Regions from separate parts of the Homo sapiens genome. Here all the other regions are linked to region 2. The links are contacts of gene promoters, found by promoter capture Hi-C in blood cells and fetal thymus (Javierre and others, 2016). All regions are on one chromosome and are shown on one strand. Each heading gives the region's core, a stretch centred on a gene start or on the middle of the fragment in contact. The rest is flanking DNA. Distances are from core to core; before and after follow the strand shown. Region 1 holds the start of ZNF416 (zinc finger protein 416). Region 2 holds the start of ZNF567 (zinc finger protein 567). Region 3 holds the start of ZNF530 (zinc finger protein 530).

Region 1 (2,947 bases), core at 387-2,886, about 21 Mb after region 2:
CACTCACCGAAGTCGAATCCCTAAGCACGGCCGCCGCCATCGGATTGTGAGCGGAGCGGGGCCGGGAGCGGCGGGCGACCCGGGGCGGGAACCCAGGCACGGCTGCCACCAGCGCCAGCGACCCACCGGCTGATGCGCAGCGGGGCGACCCCCGCTCTGTGCCGGAGGCAGCGTTTCTAACTCAGGCGGCGTGGGCCGAGGTAGAGAACCACCAAAATTACCATCTCGGAGCGGTGCCGGAAGTCCCGCCTTACCGTATGCAACAAACGGAGACAGGTCCGTTCCTGAACGTTGATTGGCTCCGCGTCTTTGCAGCTTGGCGCTCGGCATTATGGGTAATGTAGTTCTCAGAAGCCCAGGGTTCCGGTGCCCTCCCTGAGATTCACCCGGAACAAGGGCTAAGCGGCCCGCGGAGGGCGCTAGGAAAAGGCGCGACACCAAGAGCGAGACAGGGACTTGCTGCTCCTTAAAGGGGCCGCTGGCCGATTTCCGCAGTCCCATACCCACTGAAGGGAGTGTCTGGGTTAAGATAAGAGGTTGTAGAGACCAAGGTTCTTATTAAGCAGATGAAGCTTTCACGCAGCAGGCTTCAGAGGGAATAGATTGTAAATGTTTCCTATCAGACTTTGAAAGGTGCCAGACTCTTAATTCTTTCCTGGACCATGAAAATAAAAAAACCCTGGAGAGGAAAGGGGATTCTCAGCAAAATGCAGATTCCACAAGACACACCTTTGCAGGGCCTCTTCAAAATATGTCAAATAAATAAAGTTTAGAGTAAAATACTTCAATTCCTTTCAGGGCCTGCTATCTGTCATGTAATGCTATACTACAATCAGGCTGGAATTCACTGTCTTATTGCTACAAGAAGTCTTAAAATCTCTGTTTTAATGTTAATGCTGGTCAGTTGTGCCTGAATTCCAAGGGGAGGAGGGCAAGTCTGACCCTCACTTCCCATCACGTCCTGAACTAGTTTTTCAGATTAACTTTGGAATGCCCTTGGCCAAGAGGAAGGATGCATTCAGATGGTTGGGGGGCTGGGAATTTTATTTTTGGTTTACACTTCTCATGCCTCTTGGAATCTCTGAACCACATACAACGGCCATTTGTTGAGTAAAAGCTTCCAATGCAGGAAACTGTCTCTTTCAGCCTCATGCTATACACCATTAAAACAGTAATTACTGGCAATAAGACTGGGCTTTCTTAAACATACAGGATCTCACAGACCATAAGCCTATGATCCTTCATACCAGCTGCCCATAATACTTTTGGTTTTGGAAGCAGCACCCCATAACCTCAGCATGGCTACCAAGGCCTCCTTAAGACAGGGTAGAATGAATAAGATCTAGTATTTGATAGCACAGTAGAGAGACTACAGTCAACAGTAATTTATTGTACATTAAAAACAACTAAAAGAGTATTATAACTAGAATGTTTGTAACACAAAGAAATGATAAATGCTTGTGTACCCTGATATGATTATTACACATTGTATGCCTGTATCACAATATCTCACGTATCCCATAAATATACATACATACTATGTACTCATAAAACTAAAAATTTTAAAAGACAGATAAATGGCAAGCAGGTAGATGAAAACATGCTTAACATCATTGATCACTATAAAAATGCAAATCAAAACTACAATGAGATATCATCTCACTCTAGTTAAAATGACTTTTATGCAAAAGACAGGGAATAATGAATGCTGGCCAGGACAGAGAGGAAAGGGAAACTTCATACGCTGTTGGTGGGAGTGTAAATTAGTAAAGCCACTATGGGGAACAGTTTGGAGGTTCCCCACAGAAGTAAAAATAGAATTACCATATGATACAGTTTACACCACCCAGAAAAGAAATCAGTATATCTAATAGAGATCTGCACTCCCATGTTTATTGCATCACTATTCACAACAGCCAAGATTTGGAAGCTACCTAACTGTCCATAGATAAATGGATAAAGAAAATGTGATGCATATACACAATGGAGTAGTATTTAGCCATAAAAAAAGAATGAGATCCCATCAATTGCAAGAAGACGGGTGAAATTGGAGGAAATTATGTTAAGTAAAATAAGCCAGGCACAGAAAGACAAACTTCACATGTTCTCACTTATTTGTGGGAGCTAAAAATTTAAACAATTGAACTCCCGGAGATTAAGCTTAGAAGGATGGCTACCAGAGGCTGAGAAGGATAGCAGAAATGGAAGGGAAAGTGGGGATAGTTAATGGGTGCAAAAATATAGTCAGATAGAAGGAATAAGACATAGTATTTGATAGCACAACAAGGTGACTACAGTCAACAACAATCTATTGTAGAATTAAACATAACTCACCGGGCATGGTGGCTCACGCCTGTAATCCCAGCACTTTGGGAGGCCGAGGCGGGCAGATCACAAGGTCAGGAGATCGAGACCATCCTGACTAACACGGTGAAACCCCATCTCTAAAATCAAATCTCTATAATAAATCTCTAAAAATACAAAAAATTAGCCGGGCGTGGTGGTGGTCACCTGTAGTCCCAGCTACTAAGGAGGCTGAGGCAGGAGAATGGCGTTAACCCGGGAGGCGTTGCTTGCAGAGAGCTGAGATCGCGCCACTGCACTCCAGCCTGGGCAACAGAGCAAGACTTCGTCTCAAAAAAAAAAAAAAAAAAAAAGAATTAAACGTGACTAAGAGTATAACTGGAATGCTTATAACACAAAGAAATGATAAATGCTTGAGGTGATGAATACCATTTATCCCAATGTGATTATTACACACTGTGTGCCTGTATCAAACTACACCATATAACTCATAAATATATACACCTACTATGTACCCCTAAAGACTAAAGATAAGAAATCAAAAAAATAAAGACAGGATGGAGCTAAACCTGGGCCCTCTGGAATGTTCTACCTGCAGATGGAGCTGGCCTCCACTATCTTCAGTCCCTTGCTAGATGTCATG
Region 2 (3,045 bases), core at 4-2,503:
CCAGATTGGCTAAATTGGAAAAAATTATTGCCACCACACGAGCTCTCATCATCTACCATAAACATACTCAGATGGAAGTAAAAGGGAGATGGGAGTACTGCTAACCCTTCTTAGTATTCAAGGGAAAGGCCAGGGTCACTGATATCCAGGACTGGGGACTTTCTCAAAATTCACGTTAAGTCTCCTGCGGAGACAGCTCTGGGAATGATGTGGATCACATGGAACCTGACCTCTGAGAGTTCCCAAGGGAGAGCCTCTGAGGAAGGAATCCTACTCCTAGGTTCTCCCCACGACGTCTTCCCAGAACTCTGCTTAAGGGACACTTACAACTCGAAAAGCCTCGTTCCGAAAACAGGTCTGTCCTTTTTCTGTTTGCAGATTTTATTCCACCACTCGATTATCCCTTCCCTTTTTGATGGCCATTTCACTGCAGCTGGGGTCTATACAGCTATAAAGCGGGAGAAAAAAGGAAGCTGGGAACTCAGAGATGCAGAGCCCAAGAAACAATCGAGTCTAAAACTGCCGCTTAGGTGGGCACTCCGCCAGGATCCCCTGTGTCAAACACCAGGCTGAGAACTGGGGACAGGTGTGCCCTGAGAAGACAACGCGGGCCATGCTTCATTGCAAGATGACTCTGCTTAACATAGGCATGGATCATAGTCCTCACAGGCACATTGGGGAGATCTTCGACAGACCCCTCAGTCCCAACATTAAACACAGCACTGCAGAAATGAAGCTTTACCCGTTACACACACAACACCACAGACCTAAAAGGCTCTTCCATCACACGGCCACAGCAGCACTGTCATGATGGAAGGTCTCAAACCCTACAGTGTCACACACCCGACAGCCGACCACGGCCACCCAAAGGTCCCGCATCCGAGCAGGGACAGGAACACAATCACGCACCTGTCGCAGCCTCCTCGCCGCGCACACCGCCGCCTTGTCCTGGCATCAAACACACACGCACAGGTGCATACACAGGCCCGAGCTACGGCCCTGCACACCCTGTCTGCGTCCCGGGAGCTCGGGGCTTCCTCACCGTGAGCGCCGCCCTCATCCCAGCCACGCACTATGAGAATTTGGAAGGGGAACCAGAGATCAAAGTTCGAAAACCGCCCGGGCGCCTGTGGGAAATGTAGTCCAAGGCCGGAAACGCCCGGATGTGGAGAAGGCGCGCGTAGCCGGTGGACAGCAGGAACGCGCCGCGGAGACACCTGGGAGGCATCGTCCGCGTGGGAGTGCGCATGCGCAGACGCCCGGCCGGCAACCGAAGGTGAGGCTGGTGGGTCCCGCGGGCGCGGAGAAGGCGGGTGACGGTGTGACCCGTAAGGAAGGCTGAGGAGGGAGGCGGGAGCCTGGGCTGGGGAAAGCAAGAAGGGAAGAGGAGCAACCTGGGACGAGGAGTTGGCTGGAGGAAAGTGCGAGTCCGGGCCTCAGAGAAGGCTGGGAGGGAAGCAGGAACCAGAGCGCGGGCCCGGGAGCACCTGAAGAAGGGAACCGGTTGCCCGAGGCGGGGGGTGAGCTCCCCAGTGGCAGGAATTTCGTCTGATTTTCGTCCCCTGGCTCCTGGAGCACGGCCTGGCACACAACAGGCGCTCCGTGTGTGTGTGTGTGGCTTTTCGTACCTGTCCTGTGTGTTGTGGTAGGGGAATGTGTTATTCTGTGTGACGTTGTGGAACCGGTTGTTTATGAAAGTGATAGGGTCCCTGCGTGTCTTAAGTTTTAATTTAAATTAGATGCGAGTCGATTTGTGTTTGAGCCTGTGTCCGACTCTGGAGAGGCGACAGTGAGGGCATTGTGAGTGAAAGGTTGTTACTTTTTGTAGAAGTTCTGTGAAATTGTGCACGACGTGGGGGCCTATGGGATTATGACTATGTAGTGGGTGATACAGCTATGAATATGCCTAATTTTAAAAGTATTTGGTGTACACGACCTATGATGACTGTGAATGTGGCACACTGTGTGACTTAGGTGGAGTGCTTGAGAAACCGAGTGTTGACTAAAGTATGCATTGTTTAGATTGATTTATGAGTATTGGGCATTTTATATATGCCTGTAGAATTTGACTCTGGTAATTAGACAAGTAAAATAAGTAGTGATTTTTTTTTTTTAATGGAGAGGAAGAGGCAAAATAATTTTCAGAGGGTAAGATTGGGCCCATGCGGGCCGGGCGCGGTGGCTCACGCCTGTAATCCCAGCACTTTGGAAGGCTGAGGCGGGCCGATCACGACGTCAGGAGATCGAGAACATCCTGGTTAACATGGTGAAACCCCGTCTCTACTAAAAATACAAAAAATTAACCGGGCGTGGTGGCGGGCGCCTGTAGTCCCAGCTACTTGGGAGGCTGAGTCAGGAGAATGGCGTGAACCCGGGAGGCGGAGCTTGCAGTGAGCCGAGATCGTGCCACTGCAATCCAGCCTGGGTGGCAGAGCAAGACTCCGTCTCAAAAAAAAAAAAAAGATTGGGCCCATGCGCGGTGGCTCACGCCTGCAATCCCAGCACTTTGGGAGGCTGGGGCGGACAGATCACCTGAGGTCAGGAGTTTGACCAGCATGGTGAAACCCCGTCTCTACTAAAAAATATAAAAATTAGCTGGGCATGATGGCGCATGCCTGTAGCCCCAGCTACTCGGGAGCTGAGGCAGGGGAATCGCTTGAACTCGGAGGTGGAAGTTGCAGTGAGCCAAGATCGCGCCACTGCACTCCAGCCTGGGCGACAGAACGAGACTCCGTCCCTTCCCTTCCAAAAAAGATCATTTATTGGGAAACCTGGTATTGACTGATGACTGATATGCTTAAATGAATAGAATACCACTGGGACCACACAGAAAAAAACTTTATCTCATAACTGCCACTCTCAAAATTCCTATTTGAGAGTGTGTGTGTGTGTGTGTGTGTGTGTGTGTGTGTGTGTATTTATTTTTTTTTTTGCTGGATGAATTTCTTCTGCTGGAAGCCTGAAATGTGAAAGGATACATGATTAGTTTCTTCTCTAATTCCCCAACCTTTATTTTGTCTCCTCTTTACTCCCTATAGGCAGTCT
Region 3 (2,906 bases), core at 124-2,623, about 21 Mb after region 2:
AATGTTTATGGAAGATATTAGCAGTTGAGTCTGTAGACAATGTAAAGGAGATCTGGCCTCATCAGTGTTAGGGGCCAACATCCAATGCTTTGAGAGCCAAGATAGAACAAAAAGGCAGAGAAAGAGCAAGTTACTCTCTTCTTGCCCTGGATCATCCACCTTCTGTTTTCCAACATTAAAGTTCTTGGATCTTGGGCCTTTGGACTCTGGAACATACAAGAATGACCCTCACCCAGTTCTCAGGCCTTCAGCCTCCAACTGGGAATTTCACCATAGGCTCCCTTGGTTTTCAGGCCTTCAGATGCAGACTGAATGATACCACCCACCTTCGTGTCTTACCAGGTTGCAAAAGGTATATCCTGGGACTTCTTAGCCTCCATAACTGGATGAGCCAAGTCCCATAATAAATCCCCTCTTGTACATCTATGTATCCTATTGGTTCTGTGTTTCTCTGGAGAATCCTGACTAATACAATAGGTTTCAGTAATTTTCATTTCACAACTGTTTTTCTAAGATGATCTCAACTCCCCATGCAAGCACTGTCCCTGCAGTAACAGTATCAATGATCAAAATTTCCCATCAAAGAGATGAAAGCTAGGTGTCCCAAACCTTTATTCTGGTATTCTGATGTCCCCTTTGCACAAGTGCTCTGACTGTGAACACTACAGACACTGTTCTACTTTAAAATGGCATATGCTAAGTGGCTCTTCTGTTTAGAAAGTTGCTACAATCCTAAAAGAAGCATATCTAAGAATATGGAGGAAGAAATATTATATGAATACAACACTGTTCCTTACAGGGCTAGACACACTCACCGATTACACAGGCAGGAGAGGCATTTTCTGTGAGACAAAATTCCTCTTTCGTCCTCCAGCTTCGGTGCGATCTAACGGATGTTTTATCATTCCTGTCATGGCGCTATGTAAACTCTATTTCCCTTATTCCTTACTGAGCATAATGAAACTCACAAAGCTGACTCTAACGTTCTACTTTACATAAATGTGTGGAGAAAGAAGGTAATGTTTACTAGGCTCTCGCCAAGGGTAGAGGCATTTTGTATCTGAATAACTCTGACTACCTAGGTGACTAGTTGTACACAATACCCTCCAAAAATCTCTGTATGGTACCTTAAAAAAGCAGCGAAGCTCCTCCCTTGTCCAAGGAGGCTGGAGACACCACCTCTCAGCCTTCCCCTCCACCTTTCTCCATAGCAACGGGGTCATTCCTCCCTGAGGTCCAGGAGAAGGGCGACCTCTGCCAGCCCAAGAAGCGGTGAGAACTACATTACCCAGAGGCCCGTGAGCCAGGTTCTTGGCGTGGAGCCAATGAGGCTCAGGGGAGGGACATTTCCGCTCTGTCCAACTTGTCGGAGCGGAACTTCCGGCGTCCTCCCTGTGGCGGGCACTTTGGCTTGTGTCAGTTCCATCCGCGGGTGCCGGATCTGGACCTAGGTGCTGACAGCGAGAAGGCGCGAGGAGAGTCGTTTTCTCAGCTGCACAGCCGGGGCCTGACGGTCGCCGGCGGTGGTGACAGCTTTGCTCTTGTCTCCGCCCGGATCGTCCACCGCTCCCGGCCCGCTCCGCCCAGAGTCCGATGGCGGCGGCACTGAGGGCCCCGACCCAGGTGAGCGCTGCGTCCTCCCGGCCTCCTCTGCCCTCCCCACCCGAAACTGAGGGACGCGTGAAGGGTTTTCTGCAGCCCGGACCGCACTGTCCGGCACAGTGAGGCGCTGGTGCTGGATCTCGTTTCTGGTAGTGTGGCAGGGAGCGGGAGAGCGACACGGTCAGGGGGCTGCGCGGGCAACAGCTTGGAGCTGCGCCTGAGCCGGGAGGCTGGGGAGACCCAGGCCGGCCTCACGCGTGCAGGTAGCAGAGGGTGGGGCAGCGCCGCGCTGCATTGGCCCCACTGAGTTTCACCAGCACACTGAGGGCCACAGCGCGTAGGACAGAAGAGGGGCACGGCCCCAGTCACGCTTCTAAAAGTTTCACAAAAGCTGTTCAGAGGAACGCGCTGGAAGGGCAGTGATGATAGCAGGCATGGAGGGACCTAGTCTTTTTACGAGGTCACAAAGCTGGTAAAAGTCAGCACCAAGGACTGACACCCAGATACAAAGCAGTCATCCCTGGACACCTGGCTCTGGTGTTCCACATTGGAACCAGAAGTCCATGGAGCCACACTTTGGTCACCTGCCTCTCAGAACATGTTTCCTCCCACAGATTGCCACTAGTACTTACAGGTCCGTAAGAAGCACTTGAAGACCCTACAAGGGTAAGTGGAGGAAATCCAGAAGCTCATTGATTCCAGCAATGGGATCTCTAGGATTGGGACTGTGGTGACCTGGGATTCTTTACTTACCGCTTTTCCAGGCCTTGAGCCTAGGGACTCTGAACAAAAATATGTCCAGGGTGAGTATTATATGAGGTGGTGCCTGTTGCTGGCAAATAATAGGATGAATGTGGAAGTTTGTCCCAGAGATAAGTACAGGTGTTTGGAGCTGCTTGGAGGTGAGGCTGAGCTGGTTAAGAGAACCTCAAGTCTCATTTCCTTCTCATGGGAACAGAGAGCAGAGGTACAGGAGTTAGAAACTAAATGGCTGTCTCAGATGTCTTTGTTCTGGAGATGATGGCAGCAATGAAGATTTGGAGCAGAAGAGGGAGGTGATCTTCCCCAGGCCTCATGAGGCTCCTGTGGCTGAGCACAGACAACAGACTGTGGGTTTAAGGGAGTTGGTAGCAATACCAAAGAGGAAAGAGGAGACTACTGCAATAGTCCAGGTGAGTGTAGATGATGTGGGCCAGAGTAGTGGCCACAGTGTGGCAGAAATGGTTGAATTTTGGATTGTAGGTCGGCTCTGATTTTCTGGTATTGGGACTGAGAGATAAGAAGGGGTGACTCAAGGCTTTTTG

What was found. The method cuts DNA at HindIII sites, captures the fragments that hold promoters and counts their contacts. A CHiCAGO score of 5 or more calls a contact.
Region 1: a contact is called between a fragment that was not itself captured here and the fragment with the promoter of ZNF567 in region 2, in 2 of 17 cell types (non-activated CD4 T cells and activated CD4 T cells). The highest score is 11.2, in non-activated CD4 T cells.
Region 3: the fragment with the promoter of ZNF530 here is called in contact with the fragment with the promoter of ZNF567 in region 2 in 1 of 17 cell types (non-activated CD4 T cells); the score reaches 7.7 in non-activated CD4 T cells.

What each region holds. Positions count from the first base shown.
Region 1 is chr19:57,578,665-57,581,611 of GRCh38, forward strand. It overlaps ZNF416 (zinc finger protein 416), which reads right to left and starts at 247. Exons shown (of 4, transcript NM_017879.3): 1 at 8-247. The coding sequence starts at 40. RefSeq lists a silencer at 1-156. The HindIII fragment of the contact is 1,043 bases long and covers 1,116-2,158 here.
Region 2 is chr19:36,686,359-36,689,403 of GRCh38, forward strand. ZNF567 (zinc finger protein 567) reads left to right here and starts at 1,254. Exons shown (of 6, transcript NM_001322917.1): 1 at 1,254-1,276; 2 at 3,039-3,045. ZNF567-DT (ZNF567 divergent transcript) reads right to left here and starts at 1,091. Exons shown (of 4, transcript NR_110708.1): 1 at 910-1,091; 2 at 328-448. RefSeq lists enhancers at 1,061-1,110, 1,671-2,310 and a silencer at 1,311-1,370. The HindIII fragment of the contact is 4,431 bases long and covers 735-3,045 here.
Region 3 is chr19:57,598,512-57,601,417 of GRCh38, forward strand. It overlaps ZNF530 (zinc finger protein 530), which reads left to right and starts at 1,374. Exons shown (of 4, transcript NM_001321981.2): 1 at 1,374-1,623; 2 at 2,217-2,268. RefSeq lists enhancers at 1,422-1,631, 1,722-1,841. The HindIII fragment of the contact is 5,329 bases long and covers 1-2,906 here.